Linked DNA regions of Homo sapiens: region 2 is linked to region 1. Evidence: promoter capture Hi-C in human tissues and cell types (Jung and others, 2019). All regions are on one chromosome and are shown on one strand. The core of a region is centred on a gene start or on the middle of the fragment in contact, and the rest is flanking DNA. Distances in the headings are between cores, read along the strand shown.

Region 1 (2,862 bases), core at 247-2,746:
TCTTTACAACAAACTCAGGTAGCTCTCTAGTAATTTGCCTACTCCATAAGGGGGCATTTATTTACCTCTTTACTATTAATTCTCAGATCAATAGAAGAGACATAAACTTTGAAGAAAAATTCATAATTATACTTCTGCCAGTTCCCTTCAGATTAATTTAGTGAACAGGTGGACAAATTCTCTGTGTCCCTGGAGAACAAGTGAAATATAATGAAAAAAACAGATCTGGGCAAGTACAGAAAACTAACGCCCAACTGAAGTTTTAAAACTTATATTGCAAAAGTGTATGGGTATTGAGAAGAGATGAAAGGTTGAAAAGTAATTTGAAATATGCTCAGGCCATTGCAATATACCCCATTATGATAGGGATTGAGTTATGCGCCATCATACATCTCTCCCATGTCAAGGACTTTTGAAAGGATATTAAGAGGTGACAAGCACATGAACTTAAAAAATATTTTTATAAAGACTGCCACCCATTTGTTTGGCTAATAAAAAGTCAGTAAGACTTCTGCTGAACACTCCGTTCTATGTCTAAATAGCCCATGCCAGGTTCCACTTCACAGGTGTCTCATTCAGCATGCCAGCTGCCAGAATGCCCAAGCTAAGTGTACAACTGCCCGGCACAGAAAGTGTGCATGTTTTTTACTGGGTCATGAAAGTTAGCCTTTGCTCTCATCACCACAGAGAAAAGTCAGAAGATAGCCTGTCTTAGTCAGGAAAAGAAAGTACAGCCTGTAGGAAGCAATTTGAGGGTGTTCCAGATCACACCAACAGCGGATGCTGCATCTGGGTAGTTCACGTACCCGAACAAAAATTTTAAAAATTTGGTGTGGCCTTTGCCATCCATTCACTCCTCAAAAACTACCATTTGCTTTCCCAGAAAGCAAGCTTTCCAGCCCCACAGCCACGCCCCCACGAGAGAAAAAGTCGCACTCACCAAATAGTGACAGGACCCCACACACCGTCCAGATGGTCAGAGACATGCCCACGCTGCCCGTGTTCTGGAGCACGCCCTTAGGAGAGATGAAGATTCCTGCTCCAATGATGGTGCCAATGATAATGGAGACTCCCCTCAGTAAAGTGACTTTCCTCTTCAGCTGCACTTTCTCCTGCCCAGGTGGCTCCTTGTTGCCCAGGGAAGGCAGCCTCCCGTTAACATTTCCCTGCAGGTAACCTCCTTTGGAGATGGTGGACACAACAGGCTTTCTGACCATAGTAGGGACACACGGGGGAAAAATAAAACAGAGGGAAAGAAAACAAAACTTTCAACTTTGGTGTCTCTTGGTGTTACTGATCGATGTCTTCCTCTGCTTTCAGACTGTCTCTCTCAGCGCTATAGTGTTCACAGGTGAAAACTCAAAGGTGTGCTTTTTCCTTCACAGCGATCTAATTACTACTCAGAAACACCTGTGTATGCATCGTGCTCTCAATTCTCCACCTCCTCGTTCCACCACTGCTGCTGCTGCTGCTGCTGCCGCCCTATCATTACAAACCAGCTCAGCTTCCTCATGGGCTTGTATTTAAGCGCCTGCCTGTCACACCAACTTACTACAGCTAAATGATGATGCAAATTCTCCAGGTTTGCATCAGCCACATGAGAAGCCTCCAGCATTACTCAGCTCTTTTTTTTAAAAAAAGAAAAAAACAGGAGGAGCTTGTTGCTCAACTGACCTAAGCTTTTTAGAGAACAAAGCACACACTTTAAAGAGATTTTAGCCAATCCAGAAGTAGTAAATTCGGAACAGACCTTCCCAGAGATTTAAAGCAACTCGTAGTGAGCAACAAAAGCTGTTCAAACAAAATGAAACAGGAAATAGTTACTTCATTTTAAGGAGTTTCTTTTTCTTTAATGCGTGTATAAAAACATTTTACATGCGACTGTTTTGTGAGTAGAATGTATCCTAAAGCTACATTGTTTATAACAACACAGTTTGAATTTCATAATTTGTGTAATGCTTTTTATTTTTTTATTTTGAGTTTTTTATAAGGCAATACAGTCAAATCCAATATTTACAAAATTAAAGATTCTACACTTTATACTTCTGTCACATACACACAACTATAAGCCTTCCTCAACATTAAAAGATAAAATTATTTCTTACTACTCATAATAAACCAGTATTTTAAATCACCATCCGAGTGTGACTAATACAAAATTCACCATGACTCCAGAAAATAGTCATTTTCTGATTCTCATTAGCACTAGGTGATTTTTTTGAACTATGTAAAAGATACATATCCTTCATTGTCATGTTGTTCCTTTGAATTACCAAAAAAAATTTCTAAGTTCAAAATTACACAATTACAATTACATAAAAATATGTATATAGCAAAAGCCTGTAAAGGAAAACAGAATGGTAGTTATAGAAAGTAATGATATTATGTATGACTTTTTTCCACATTATATAAACTATTGTTATTATTATAAATTTAAAATGCATTAAAAATGTAAGCTAAATTAAAATATTTACTTTGCAATAGTCAAAAAGGCAAAACATTTTTAAACCCTTCTAACTTTCTCAACCAAGTGTCAAGAAAAAACAAATATGAAAAGAAAAGAAATCCTAGATATCATTTTTGGCTATAGTTACATGTGGTTTTGGATTCAGTGAGAAGAATTGAATGTTATCATTACCCTGAAGCTACCTTTATACGCACCATTAAATAAGCTTCTGAACCTTTGAACAAAAACCACAAACAAAAAGCCTGTGTGCGAGAGGTTGGCAGGGAAAGAAGGGAGTCAAGTATGGTGAGGATGATCAAAGAAAGAAATGAGAAATCGCCATTAGGAAAGTAGCATGGAAAAGGTCAGAACCATTTTCTGTTATGTTGACACCTGAGAAAATGACACCACCTCAA
Region 2 (2,862 bases), core at 167-2,666, 1.1 Mb before region 1:
AACAAATATCTTGTATTCATAAGCAGGTAATGTGTAGCATAGCTAGATATGTTTTATGAAAACATGAATCTGATTATTACACTGTCAGAACAAATTACTTCAGTGATTTCGAAAAACCTTCAGAATAAAGGCAAAACCTTGGGATTAGCATATAATACCTTTAAGTCAGATCTCCCCTTTTCCTATGATATCCTTACCAATTTCCAGGGCTTCAACTGTGCCCTCAGCATAGCTCCATTAATAGCATGTAGACACAGTAATTTCCTCAGACAAGACCTATTCTTATTTGGCTTTTGTATCACCCATGGCCAAGATCCAGCACTTTGCACATAGTAGTTACACAATTACTTTCTGAAAAACAGATGAATAAATTAATTATTTACACCTACATTTTAAGTGAGGTTAAAATATGAATGAACCATCTTGCCCCTCACAGAATAGTGTCTTCTTTTCATCACTCTGGATACGTTAAGGATATTTTCTTTATCATCTCAAACCAACATTTGGAATTTATGTTTAATTGATCTCTATCTCCTCTACTTCTTCCAACCCCTGTTTAATCTAAATGACAATTTATTTTACTTCCAAATGATCTCTCTCATTATCCTATTTTTCATACATTTATTGCCACTTTTTTTAGAACTGTCTTTGATCCCTACTTCTCAGGTTAAGGTAGATTGGACTATCAGTGGTCTTCATGCTAATTTACGTACTTTCAGATCCATTACAAATAGTTTTACTTTACAGATCCTGCCTGTATTTCCTACCTCTCTACCTCAATGTTTTTGCATATGCTAACTAACCACTTTCTCCCAATCTCCATTTTACTAAGTTGTTAAGAAATCTGCTTCATTACTATGCTCATACAACATTGTTTTTGCTTTTCAGCCCAATGTCTTCAACATAAAATATGTTCTGTAATCTGAATTTTCATATTTCTCTGTTGTATCATTACTGCAATATGTTTTATAGTTTTAGGGCTATTTCTCTCTCTCTCTCTCATATATATATAATATATTTATATTTCATGTATAAATATATTATATATTTATATATAATATATTTTTATATAGTTTTTTATATTTATATAAATATATATATTTATATAAATATATAAATATATATATTTATATAAATATATATATTTATATAAATATATAAATATATATATTTATATAAATATATAAATATATATATAAATACAATATTTTTATATTTTATATTTATATAATATACATAAAATATATTTTATATACAGTTATATATATTTTATATACAGTTATATATAAATATATTTTATATACAGTTATATATAAATATATTTTATATAGTTATATATAATACATTATATATAGTTATATATAATATATTTTATATATAGTTATATACAAATATATTTTATATAGTTATATACAAATATATTTTATATATAAATATAAAATATAAATATATTATATATATAAAAATATATATATATTTTATGTTTCCCTTTCTGCTTTAGGAGATTATATATGGATATTTATATATACTTACCCTTCTCCTTGCAATGTTATGATGTCTTGAGGAGAGGGATCTATTCAGCATTTTTATCTGTCTGCCCACTGCACTGTCTAGCATTATGCCTTGTACACAGTAAGGACTGAATGAATGTCCCTCAAGTAGATAAATGAGGATGCTTGGCTCTAGGTTTGGTATATAGTAGTTCATAAGCACAAAGGAATAAAACAGCAGCTATTTTTCTGATGTTTACCCCCCTCAATGAAAAATATTCCCTGGGCTTTGTTAAGTAAAAGGTTTTAAAGTGGTGACATACAGACATGTATTCTTTGGACAGTAAAATATTAAACAAGGCAACAAAAATCTAATTAGTTGACAACATTTAAAACTGGCAGACTTCACTTAATTTCAACAGTCTTTTCAAAAGTGAGAAGCAGATTTGGCAATATTGGGAAAATATTCTCCTAGAGCCAAAATTTGCTGGTAATAAGTATCAACTAACCAGTTTAGCCAAGGCTACTGTGTTCTAGTTTGCCTGAATTTCAAATAGCTTATTCATCTTATTTAGATCTTTTGTGATGGAAGGTCTTGGTCAGTGTGACCTCTTCTTTTATATACTTGATCTCTGTACTTGTGTAAAATAAGATTCCAGGACTTGCATTGGGAATCAGGGTTTTAACATACAAGTCTACCAGCTATGCCAGCCAGCTGAGCAGGGGTAGAAAGAACCTGACAGCTGTGCAGATAATGAAGAAACAAACAAAAAACTTTGAATAAAATACTTGGAAAAAATGAGCCAAGTAAAGGGCACAAGCTAGCATATTCAGGGAGAAGAGAAATACTAAGATAAAGAAAATGTGCCAGATTATACGGTAGACACTATTATATTAGTCTTTACTATAGCTTTGACTATATATACATGACTTATAGCTGTATAAGGAACATTTCCTAGCTCTTGCCACTGAAAAAGCATAGAAACAGTAGCACCCTAAAGGCAATGATAATATCTACTGCCCATATTTTAATTTCTAAACACCATTTTCTATTAAAAGGAGCTAGGATTCTTGGGAGAAAGAGCTGATTCCAAGGCTGAAGTGAGAATATTTTCCATTTGAAACCTGAATGACTTGTTCAGAGAAGAAGGAAGTGTTCAAAGAATAATTGAGATATGATATACATAAGACACAGAAGCCAGATTGAAGGGGCATCACTGATTAAATACAGGACAATTTGAGCACCTAAATAAATAATGGTAGTAATAGATTATAACCCACTGAACAAAATAAAGAAGTTCTTATCCATAGTGAATATCAATTTTGAAATTTATTATCTAAATTTCAAGAGGTAACAGCATATTGGCAAGAT

What was found. Contacts are between HindIII fragments. The study calls those that stand out against the background at their distance.
Region 2: a fragment that was not itself captured here is called in contact with the fragment with the promoter of SLC7A11 in region 1 in 1 of the 25 tissues and cell types used here (dorsolateral prefrontal cortex).

What each region holds. Positions count from the first base shown.
Region 1 is chr4:138,240,853-138,243,714 of GRCh38, forward strand. SLC7A11 (solute carrier family 7 member 11) reads right to left here and starts at 1,497. Exons shown (of 12, transcript NM_014331.4): 1 at 941-1,497. The coding sequence starts at 1,217. RefSeq lists enhancers at 843-2,042, 1,512-1,751. The HindIII fragment of the contact is 2,388 bases long and covers 1-2,175 here.
Region 2 is chr4:137,163,719-137,166,580 of GRCh38, forward strand. All of the region lies in intron 1 of LINC02511 (long intergenic non-protein coding RNA 2511), which reads right to left. Among named protein-coding and RNA genes, the nearest start is that of LINC02510, 29 kb to the right of the region's middle. The HindIII fragment of the contact is 7,172 bases long and covers 1-2,862 here.